Regions from separate parts of the Homo sapiens genome. Here all the other regions are linked to region 2. The links are contacts of gene promoters, found by promoter capture Hi-C in blood cells and fetal thymus (Javierre and others, 2016). All regions are on one chromosome and are shown on one strand. Each heading gives the region's core, a stretch centred on a gene start or on the middle of the fragment in contact. The rest is flanking DNA. Distances are from core to core; before and after follow the strand shown. Region 1 overlaps TNFSF8 (TNF superfamily member 8). Region 2 holds the start of WHRN (whirlin). Region 3 has its middle 35 kb from the start of TNFSF8. Region 4 has its middle 24 kb from the start of TNFSF8.

What was found. The method cuts DNA at HindIII sites, captures the fragments that hold promoters and counts their contacts. A CHiCAGO score of 5 or more calls a contact.
Region 1: a contact is called between a fragment that was not itself captured here and the fragment with the promoter of WHRN in region 2, in 2 of 17 cell types (naive B cells and total B cells). The highest score is 9.0, in naive B cells.
Region 3: a fragment that was not itself captured here is called in contact with the fragment with the promoter of WHRN in region 2 in 1 of 17 cell types (naive B cells); the score reaches 7.5 in naive B cells.
Region 4: a contact is called between a fragment that was not itself captured here and the fragment with the promoter of WHRN in region 2, in 1 of 17 cell types (naive B cells). The highest score is 5.7, in naive B cells.

The regions. Positions count from the first base shown.
Region 1 is chr9:114,918,571-114,921,342 of GRCh38, reverse strand. All of the region lies in intron 1 of TNFSF8 (TNF superfamily member 8), which reads left to right. Among named protein-coding and RNA genes, the nearest start is that of TNFSF8, 11 kb to the left of the region's middle. The HindIII fragment of the contact is 218 bases long and covers 1,305-1,522 here.
Region 2 is chr9:114,504,147-114,506,893 of GRCh38, reverse strand. It overlaps WHRN (whirlin), which reads left to right and starts at 1,421. Exons shown (of 12, transcript NM_015404.4): 1 at 1,421-2,710. The coding sequence starts at 2,093. RefSeq lists a silencer at 1,327-1,626 and enhancers at 1,151-2,041, 2,042-2,747. The HindIII fragment of the contact is 12,008 bases long and covers 1-2,747 here.
Region 3 is chr9:114,893,992-114,897,048 of GRCh38, reverse strand. It overlaps a transcript of TNFSF8 not described here. Among named protein-coding and RNA genes, the nearest start is that of TNFSF8, 35 kb to the left of the region's middle. RefSeq lists an enhancer at 2,012-3,057. The HindIII fragment of the contact is 246 bases long and covers 1,165-1,410 here.
Region 4 is chr9:114,952,631-114,955,683 of GRCh38, reverse strand. No RefSeq gene overlaps it. Among named protein-coding and RNA genes, the nearest start is that of TNFSF8, 24 kb to the right of the region's middle. The HindIII fragment of the contact is 474 bases long and covers 1,275-1,748 here.

The DNA of each region.
Region 1 (2,772 bases), core at 164-2,663, 410 kb before region 2:
GTCTCAATCTCCCTCTGGCTTTGATTGTCTAATCTTGACTACCATGGGTAGCTAGGAGAAGCTGTAAAGACCTCATCCCAAGAGCTCTTCAAAATAGGAATAGTCACGCTTCTGTCATGGACTTCCTGGGCCCTGGGTGAAGGTTTAAATGACAGGTTTCTTTCCTGTTTGAGATGCTCTGCTTTTGACATCCCATGTCTGAAATTAGGAAACCAGAATGCATTCAAGTGACAGAGAGAAAAGAGGCTTTCCTTGACCCCCATATAAATTAGGTCCTCCTCTCTGATATTACTTCTCACAGCTGTGCTATTCAAAGTGTTCTGTGGGCCAGGAGTGTCAGTATTACTCGAAAGCTGCCAGAAATACAGAATGTTGGCCAGGTGCGGTGGCTCACGCTTGTAATCCCAGCACTTTGGGAGGCCCAGGCGGGCAGATCACAAGAGGTCAGGAGTTCAAGACCAGCCTGGTCAACATGGCGAAATCCCGTCTCTACTAAAAATACAAAAATTAGCCGGGGGTGGTGGTGGGCCCCTGTAGTCCCAGCTACTGGGGAGGCTGAGGTAGAGGAATTGCTCGAATCCAGGAGATGGAGGCTACAGTGAGCCGAGATTGCGCCACTGCACTCCAGCCTGGGTGACAGAGTGAGGCTCCATCTCAAAAAGAAAAAAATGCAGAATGTTAAACTCCCCCCAAATCTGCAGAATCAGAATTTGCATTTTAACGAGACTCCCAGGTGATTCATATGCACATTGAAGTTCTAACAGCACTACCTTAAAGCACTATGATTCTTTTCCTCCATAGCTCTTGCCACAACCTGCAATTCTAATTACACATTTATTTATATTTTTTAAATGGCTGCCTTAATGACTAAAGCATAAAATCCATAGGATGTCTTTTAGTGACTAACGTAGTTCCTACCACAGACCAGGTGCTCATTCAAGGTGTGCTGCATGAATGATTCTCTAGGACTTCCCGAACTGCTAGCAGCCTCTGCAATGATGGCTGTACCAGGTTTGCTATTCTAGCCTCTCTCACTGTCCCTGTATATGTCCCTGGGCAGCTTGATGAATTTGATGATTGTGGTAAGACATTTCAATGCAGATATTTTTCTTAGTGCATTTGCACATCATGCTAATCAATGGTCACGCTTGGCAGTAAGTTGTAAGTTGTTTATTAAATTTTAAAATGTTGTGTGTTGTCTCACAAGGGCAACATAAAGGGGAATTTTGTGATATCAAGTTTTCCTGCAAACTGCATGCATAACTGAAAGACTACAAAAACTTAGCTTTGTTAGGTTAAAAGCTTTCAACTAAGGCAACAAAGTCGTAGACTGTTACAGTAGGAAGGGCCTTCCAGGACAAGTTTGCCTCCCTTCCCCTGAGAAGGTAGGGCCCAAATGTTTAAGCTGACTTCCCCCATCTCCAGATTGGTGCTGTGCCAGGGCTTTGCCTTCAGGAGACCTCCTTGACTCACTACCAACCTCTTGCACTAGAGAAGAGATCCATTCATAAGAAAACAAGCTTTCAGCGGAAGGCAAATGACAGACCTCCCAGGGAAATGTTACAATAATAGGGGAACTCCAGATGGTCCTAGTGTTCATACAGAACACTAAGAAAATAAGCTGTGGGCGGCTGCTAATTTCTTGCTTTGGTAGAGGTTAGGAAGTTGGTTTTTTCGCATACACACGCTCACACCTCTCTAGGTCTTTACTAATATTTTAATTCAATGCAATACAGGAGATTCCAACCTGGGCAGGTCAAAAGATGAATAAAATACTTCATTCCTTATTGGCAGAATATTGTATGGGTGTCTCCATGGCTGGAGAGAAAGGGGAGGGACAATCAGGGTGTGAAACTTAGTGTCTGAAGAATTTATTAGGGGAAAAGAACTGTGCCTCTCTGCTTCTGTTAACTCCTTGTTGAGAGTCCTTGAACTAGAACCTCCCTTTAGTCACCTTCAATCCCCAGCCCAGGATTCCCTCCTTCAAAAGACAATCTGTTTCTATCAACCTCTTATTTGTGTAAATATTTATGTATATATTTATTACAGAATAAATAATATACTATGTAAATGTTTAAATATATAATATGCATTTGTATGTATACTACATGTGTATACATATTTGTATATTTAAATATAAACTTGTAATAAATCCATAAGGATGGGGACCCAATTTAATTATGTATGGTGTCCTCACAATGCTTGGCATATAAACACACAATTAATTCAGAATTTCCAACCACAGGAGACATAGAGATGTACCTTCCCAGGTATGTTTACAACATACGTTCACAGATGAATCAAACATGGAAAAAAAAAAAACACATCTACTTTTATGATATACTTGATTATTCTCATGTTGACCAGAAGGAAAAAAAAAGAAAAAAACACCCAAACATATGGAGGGGGGAAAAGCACCAGATTGGGAGTTGAGTCCTGGCTCTAGCCGAGTGTGATAGCTCACACCTGTAATCCCAGCACTTTGGGAGGCTGAGGCGGGTGGACCACAAGGTCAGGAGTTCGAGACCAACCTGGCCAATATGGTGAAACCCTGTGTCTACTAAAAATACAAAACTTAGCTGGGTGTGGTGGTGGGTGCCTGTAGTCCCAGCTACTCTGGAGACTGAGGCAGGAGAATCACCTGAACTGGGAGGCGGAGGTTGCAGTGAGCCAAGATAGTGCCACTGCACTCCAGCCTGGCAACAGAGCAAGACTCCTTTTTTTAATTAGCTGAGTGTAGTGGTGTGCACCTGTACTCCCAGCTACTCAGGA
Region 2 (2,747 bases), core at 172-2,671:
ATTCTCCTCTCCTAAACCTGGGCTCCCTCGCCATTACAACAGGTATCACACTGGTTTTTAACTCTATTTATTTGATCTTTCTCCCCTGGGTCTCCAGCACCCAGCACATGACCCAGCACAGAGCAGATGCTTCAAAAACGTTGAATGAAAAGCGACCAAATAAATAAATAAATAAATAAATAAATAAATAAATAAATAAATGAATGATCTATCCTTCTGGGTCCACCACAAACCAAATCCTCCAGGTAATCCTCCATCTTGCCCTACCCTGGATAGATGTCAGCTGGCTCTGCAATGGAAATTCTGGAAGACTTTTACGAAAAATACATAGAAGAGTAGCTTAGGAGAGGCAGCTCAGGTTGGAAGGGATGTGTGTGAGGTAGGGTGTGTGTGTGTATGTGTGTGTGTGTGTGTGTAGCACTATGAAGCTCCCCATTAGAATAAAAGCACAGGATTTTACTTAAATCTTATTTGGGGGATTGGGTGGGTGACGACCGACTCCAGGGCACACCTGGGTGTATCTTCCCATTTTGCCTAGGGATGGGAGAGCATAGAAGAGATTTTTCTCCAAGCCACTTCAAATATGTATATTTTTAATTTCTATTTTGAGATTGTAGATCCAAATGCAGTTCTAAGAAATAATACATAGACATGCCATGTACCCTTCACCCAGTTTCCCCCGATGTTGACACGATGGCAACCAGGACATTGACATTGATAAAATCCACCCACCTTACTCAGATTTCACCAGTTTTATATGCGCTCATTTGTACGTGTGTGCGCGAGCGTGGGGTGTACACTTTATATAATATTTCTGAAAGTGGCTTTTCCCTTGCAATGGAGACTGGGAAGGGGTCCAGCCTGATCCATCCCTGCCACGGAGTTGACTCCGGCAGACAGCAGTCTATGCTTGTATTCGTCTCTCGCACACAGTAGGTGGCCAACGACCGTCCACATAAACCCTGGAATTTGTCATGTCAGGGCGCGTGCAGGAGGGGAGCGCCACATTGTAAGGAAGAAAACCGAGACTGAAGTGCCCAGTATTTTGGAAGCAAAAATCAAACAAACAAAAAACTTGACGATTTCCCCCCGAATTGTGAATTAGCTAGCCGGCTAATTACTCCAAAGCGATCCTGGTGTCGGCACTCGCTGCGACCGCCGAAGAGCGCTGTTTCTGAGCCCCGCTCCCGGCTCTGCCGGCGGGGTAGGGGACGCGGGGGCTCCTCCCACCCCTACCGCCGCGTTCACCCCTTTCTTCCCTGGGGCTGGACTGTTTCACCCCGTCTCCAGGCAACGGCCAGGCGCACCGGGCGGGACGTCATTTCCTGAGGAGCCCGTGGGGAGGGGGCGGGCAGGAGGAGGGACGAGGGGGCGGGGCCCGGGCCGGGCTGGCAACGAGACGGCGTCGGAACTCGCTGGAAGACTCGGCCCGGGTGGCTCAACAGTTCGCAAAGTCCGGGCTTGCGGCCGGGCGGCGCAGAGGCGCGGAGGCTCCCCGGGCGGCTGCATCCCGGGGCTGCCCCGGACATGCCCCGCACCCCTTGTCGGACGCCCGCGCCGCTTCACCGGCTGCCACTCCCCGGAGTGCTCTGGGACTAGAGCGCCCTCCGCCCCAACTTCTGACTTTGGGGTCCCCCAGCCCTAGAGGAACGGGCGCCCGGCTGGGGGAGCCCCGGGCATGGTGTGACGGGGCAGTCAGGTCAGCTTTGCGGCGCCCCCAAACTCCAGCCACCCGTCGTCTCCGTGCCCTCCAGAATGTAGCTGCTGACCCCGCGCCCCCCGGACTCCAGCAGCAGTCTCCGCCACCTCCGGGCTCCAGCAGCCAACTCTTGTGTCTCTCAGGAACCCGCCGACGTCTCCGCGTCCCCCGGATTCCAGGTTCGCGACCCCCGCCGTCTTCGCGCCTCCGGGACTCTAGCAGCGGTCTCCGCGACCCCCTAGGATCCAGCCACTGTACCCGTGCTCCCCAAACCCAGGCTCCAGCCGTCGTCTCCGCGCTCCCGGGGATCCAGCTGTCGCGCCAGTACCCGCGAGGACAGCGGCACCGCCCACACCCCGCGCGCTCAGAGCCCGGCCGGGCCTCGGCGTGGAGATGAACGCGCCGCTGGACGGCCTGTCGGTGAGCTCGTCCTCCACCGGCTCGCTGGGCTCGGCGGCCGGGGCGGGCGGCGGCGGGGGCGCGGGGCTGCGGTTACTGTCTGCCAACGTGCGCCAGCTGCACCAAGCGCTGACCGCGCTGCTGAGCGAGGCGGAGCGGGAGCAGTTCACCCACTGCCTGAACGCTTACCACGCGCGCCGCAACGTCTTCGACCTGGTGCGCACCCTGCGCGTGCTGCTGGACAGTCCGGTCAAGCGGCGCCTGCTGCCCATGCTTCGTCTGGTCATCCCGCGCTCCGACCAGCTGCTCTTCGACCAATACACGGCCGAGGGCCTCTACCTGCCCGCCACCACCCCCTACAGGCAGCCCGCCTGGGGCGGCCCCGACAGCGCGGGGCCAGGGGAGGTGCGCCTGGTGAGTTTGCGGCGTGCCAAGGCCCACGAGGGCTTGGGCTTCAGCATCCGTGGGGGCTCGGAGCACGGCGTGGGCATCTACGTGTCTCTGGTGGAACCAGGCTCTCTAGCTGAGAAGGAAGGACTGCGGGTCGGGGACCAGATTCTGCGCGTCAACGACAAATCCCTGGCCCGGGTGACCCACGCGGAGGCCGTCAAGGTAAGGCTGTGGTTTGGAGAGAGTCTGGGGCAGAGTA
Region 3 (3,057 bases), core at 38-2,537, 390 kb before region 2:
TGCCTGTAATCCCAGCTACTCGGGAGGCTGAGGCAGGAGAATCGCTTGAACCCAGGAGAAGGAGGTTGCAGTGAGCCGAGATTGCACCACTGCAACTCCAGCCTGGGCAACAAGAGTGAAACTCAATCTCAAAAAAAAAGAAAGAAAAAAAGAATTTTCAGGGCTCAGGAGATAAGAATGCCTATTAGAGAAAGGTGAAATTTTTAGAAAGCAGAATCTACCTGTGCCATCTGAGAACATGGAAGGAAAAAAAAATAAATCTTTGCTTACTTTATTGAACCCCTTTTCTGAGCAAGGTGTGGTATATTTGCTGTAGAATCCATCACCCTTCCTATCTCTGAGATATCTATATGCTATTCTAGTCATTTTGTGATTAGAAATAGTGAGATTAACCTTAGAAAGTTTTTTAAGTTTTATTTTATTTTTGATTGACACAAAAATAGTGTACATATTTAGGTAGCACAGTGTGATATTTCAATACATGTATACATTGTGCAATAGTGAACATATCCCTTACTTTAAACAGTTATTTCTTTGAGGTGAGAACATTCAAAATCCTCTCTTCTAGATATTTTGAAATACACTAGAAAGTTTAAATCAAACCTTGGTATACCTTAGAATCCTGAAATCCCAGGCCACTTCCTAGAGCAATTAAATTAGAATCTCTGGATTTAGAACCCAGGCATCAGGATTATTTTAAGCTCCCAAATTTAAGCCAAATATTAAGAGTCAGTGGTTTAAATCTTTGCTGTTATGTCCTGGTGCCTGGTATCACCAGAGAGCTTGTTAAAAATGCAGGCATCTCATACATACCTAAAAACTGGAACAGAATCTGCATTTTAATATGATCCAAGAGATTCAGGTGCACCTTACAATCTGAAGAACACTAGTTGGTTGACTTTTTCTGGTAAGTGGAGAAGATTGCTGGTAATCCGTTATGTTTCTCTGTTTCCCCCAAGTGGACTTTCATGAATTGGCTTGGTCTTCCTTGTCTGCTGCTTATGCAAATGTGAGGGTCTAAACACTACAAAACCATCAAGTCAACGTGATGGTATTCATTTGTAATGATCACCACTGAATTTTTAACAACTGCTTTTGATCCAACTGTCTCCCTTGGGAATATTGGGCAACACTAGGAATAATCTGGACAACATGTTGAAAGCTTTGGATGCAGTTTAGAAACTTCTATGGGGGCTGTACTTTCCCTATAGCCAAGGAAAGAGAAAAAAACAAGTCTGAGGGTGGCAGATGGGAAAGAATAGTGGCCTTGGCAACTGGAAGCCAGTTTCAATCTGAGCTGAAGCAATTACTAACTCTATGACCTTGGCAAGTCACATGGACTTTGTAAACTTAAATTTTCTCAGCTGTACAATGGGAAGCTGTTGGGAGAACAAACACATAGAATAAGCTTGGAAAGTGTACAACTCTTGGGGTATTTTATCATATTCAGTGTCTGTGAAGGAGTTAGACCTTGGGGAGAGGAGTAGGAAAAAATGAATCAATGCAAGTTTGAGAAAAGTGAAAGTTCCTCAAATCCACTGAAGCCTATTCCCATCTGCATTCAGAAAAGCCAGCCATTGGATCAACAAAGGTCTCTGTCAGGCCAACTCTCAAAGGATGGTTTCATCCTGCAGGGAAAACTGGACTAGATAACCAACTGACTGTTTGCGAGATGCAGTATCAAGGTCCTCTCCCTGTGCCTCTCTAGAAGCAGCACTGATTGCACTGCAAATGAACACTTTTCTCACTTAGAAATGAGCACTTAGAAGACAAGAAGAATCCATCTCCAAATCCCAGCACCCAAATCAGTGTCCTACACAAAGTCAGCACTCAGGAAATGTTTAGATTTCACTTGCAACAGGAAGAGGGAATTACCAGGCAGGGATATCAGCTAAACTAGTCAGGAACAAGCTGATTTGAAGGCTGATCCTCCTTCACAACCAGGAGGCTCCAAACAAAAACCAGCTGAAGTATTTCATCATTTCCTTTCCATTGCTAGGGACGCAGATGACCTAACCTCCTTGACATTCTGACTATGCCTTCCGTTCTCACAATGAGTCTCATTTTACCAGCTGGCCTGATGCAGTCAGCGCATGGCACAGTACTCAAGGGAAGAAAGGTCACAATCCATCACAGGATCAATACAATGGGATGAGTAAACAGCAAGAAAACACTGAAGGAGGCTTCATTTCTACCACCAACATTACATTCATACACTCACACAGTCCTCAATTGCATCTGGTCTTTTCATCCTCCTCATTCATTACTTTGATGTGTTTACTTAAACCGCTTTATGTTACGTAAATAGATATAATTACTATCACTTACTGAACGCTTGCTTGCCAGGTTTCAGGCACCACATGGAAGCCTTCAAATACTGTAGTCTACTGCATCTCACCCTTATGAGATAGAGATGACCATTCCCATGTTGCAGATGAGGAAACAGAGGCTCGAAGAAATGCTTAAGTATGTCTAAGTTTCAGCAGCTCATGAGCTGAAGAGCTAAGATGTAACCACTGCAGTTTGGCTCCAGAGCTATATTTCTAACCACACTACACTGCACTACCCTGAGGCTACTTGACCTGGTGCCTGCTGATTCCTTTGTCCACAAGGTCCTTGCCCTTCATTCACATCTTGTTAATTTGACCTCATTCATAAAATTTCAACTCAGACATTATTGCTCAAGAACCATTCCGCTAAATTAGACATGCAACCTGGACCTTGATATTCTCACTTCTGTCTAAAAATTTACTACACTCACTATGACAGCATGATTGTACATTTGCCTCCCTGCTAAACTGTGGGCTTCTGAGTAACAACAACGTCAAAATGTATCACATCTCTCCTGCCGATATCTACAAAGTAAAGTTATTCTTTCTTCCAGATTACTGTGGCATGATCCTCCACCATTCACACTCTACCCTGGACTCTGGGAAGGGACACTGCTGCCTTGAAACTCTACAACCCTGAACCTTGATGCTGGTTGCTGCAGACAAGAACTGCTTCTACCCTGGGTCACTGTCACTGCTAAGTGGAAAGTCATGAACTTGATGGTAC
Region 4 (3,053 bases), core at 262-2,761, 450 kb before region 2:
ATGCTAGAAGTCAGAAAATAACTGAAGAAAGCCTTCAAAATTCTGACAAAATATTTTATCTGGAATACATTACTTAGCTAAGCTATCAAAAGACATAAGAGGAACATATAGACATTTCCAGACATAGAAAGACTCGGAAAATTTACCTCCCTTTTACACCCTCTTTTTTAGGAGGTTACTTGAGAATATCCTCCAGCTAAACCAAGGAATGAAACAAGAAAGAGGAAGTGCGGAGGTCCAAAAAACAAGGGGTCTAAAACAGGAAAACAGTGGGGGGAAGTTCCAGGATGCCAGCAGGGTAGGACACAAAGAGAACCAGCAGTACAGATAGCAACGCAGGCAAGGGGGCTCTAGGACAGGGCTTTGGGAAAGTAAAGCATTACAAAAAAATAATATCTGGTCTATTTTATCATTTTGATTAGGAGTTGACAAACTGCAGTCCGTGGACCAAATCCTGCCTACCACCTGCTTTTGTAAATAAAGGTTTTTTGGAACATGGCCAGCTGCCCCCCTTCATTTACATATTGTCTGCAGCTCAGTTGCATATTGCCCATGACTTTAACAGCTGAGTTGAGTAGTTGCAACAGAGGCTGTCTGGACCAAAAAGTCTAAAAATATTTACTATATGATCTTTTATAGAAAGAGTTTGCCAACGCCTGATTTAAAAGGAAAAACTAATTAGTGATCTGATGGAATGGGTGAAAAAAAGATAAAAATAAATGTAGAACAAACAACACCAACTGGAGGTAAACAGGCAATTTTAGGAAGAATAAAGTTGGACAAGAAAATATATGATCCTAGTATACTACTTGGACTCTGCAAATAATTTTTGTATAATCATAAAAACATAAACAATGATTTGGATTTATCCAAAAATTGTGAAATGAATATTAAAGCAAGAGGAGAAATGAAGAGATGTATAGAAGATCTAAATTTTCCTTTTATAGCAGAAAATCAGTAGAAGTCTAATATTAATAAATCAATATATAACAATATAAGCATATTTGCTAGAAATACTGAGGCATGTATTAGAAGAGACAGCTAGCACAGTTCCAAGTGATTTCTCTGGAGAGCAGGACCAAGTGAGGTAGAGATTCATAGGCAGAGCACTGCTGTTTTCATTATAAACCTTCAGCATGTTTTTTAACTTGATAAAGTGGCAGTTAATTTCCAAAAATACTCAATCTCAAAAATTATAAAATATGATAGGTATTATGAAGCCCTAAAACGAGGTACCATGAGAGAGAATAATGGAGGTAGATAAACTATAAGCTTACTTTAGTCTGCAGGGAAGGTGGTTCTAAGAAGATGACATTTAAACTGAGAACTTGAAAGCTAGCCAGTCAGCCAGTTTAGGGGAATGGGCCTCCAGGTAGAAGGACCAGCATGTGCAAAGGCTTGGGTGTGAGAGCGAGCTCCGTTGGGACTTAAAGGATCTGAAGTCGTTACGATCAGCTGAAGGGGAGAGTGTGCCTGCAGAAGCCCTCAGGAGCAAACTTGCAAAGACAGCAGGAAAGAGACCATGAAGCATTTGTACCCTATCCAAAAAGCAACGCTGAGTCACTGGATGATGCCATAAACACAAGAATGTGTCGCAAGACTGAGACCAACATTTGGCATATGTTTCTTCCTTTTAAGATTTTTGCCTATAAACAGATTCCAGTCCATAACCTAACAAAAGAAGTTACCGTACTGTCAGAAAGTGGAGCCAGACTGTATGTGTTTCCTGTAGGATGACATGTCAAGCTTAGACATAAGCCAGCAAGGGGACCTCCCCAATGTCCTTGCTGGATTTGGAAGTGGCCATGTGCTACTCAGGGATTGCCTGCTCTCATCAACTATGTGACAGCTTCTTCTTCTCAAGTAAACTCCTACTTTGCTCCTTATACATACCCACTACTTTCCCTTAATCCCTCCTGGAATTTTGGATGCAAGATTTCCTACAATCTCTCCTTGGGCTCCTATGGGCCTCTCTTTGACTAAATCCAAAGTCTTGGTCTTGGCCATCACTGCATTGGCTTCCTAAATGCCCTCTTTATCCGCTCCTCATTCTGTTTCAGATGTCTCAATACAGATGAGTCTCTCAAGGAAGGACCCAAGAGATACTCTCTCCCTACCTCCATGAGGAAAATGGAACCCAGGGAGAGCAGCAAGCTGATAGCAGAATCAGGATCACAATGCAGATTGCATTGCTTTGCTTGTGAGGAGACCCCTTCAAGACTGCTGAAAAGAAGCCATCACATGCCCTTGGCCAGAAGCCTGGCATAGTGAAATTCCGAGAGGTGGAGTTCCTTTTTTATTTTTTTCTATTATGATTTTCCTCTATTAAAGAAATAGCAATTAATATTTGAGAAAATGTGCTCTAATTACATTTTGCAATCCATGCCCTTGGGTTAAAGTGAACCCAGATGTAATTATTTTTGTGAAATAGCTCTTAACTCTCTGCATATTAAGTCTTGCTTCCTTTAAAAGCAGCAGGATGCCTTCACATCATTGCTGTTGGCATTTTCTTGTCAGAATTACTAAGGATTAATTACAAATTACTTTTATTGCACTGGGAGTAGGCAGCACAGAATCAACAATGTCTCCTAAACGTTAATGTAGTCAGTAGTTTTCAGTCATTTTGGTCTCAAAACTCCGTAGCCTTTTAAAAATTGAGGACTCCAAAAAACTTGTGTGCATACGGCTTTATCTATGAATATTATTAGAAATAAAAACTGAGAAACTTAAAAAATCTGTACTTATTAATTTATTTTAAAACAACAGCAATAATCCTGTTGCAGTGGGATTCATGGGTTATTATTATTTTAAAATAAATTAATAGGTAAAGAGTTACAGAAATAGTTTAACATATTTTTATGAAAAAATAACATTTAAAAAAATGCTAAGAGCAACATTGGTTTTAGAGTTTTGTAAATCTCTTCTATCTCTGGCTTAATATGAGACAGCTGGATTCTCATACCTGCTTCTTCCTTGAGTCCGTTGCAGATATCATACATCATGCAACCTCAGAAAAGCTCCACTTACAGGAGAGAATGAGTCTGAAAAAGAAC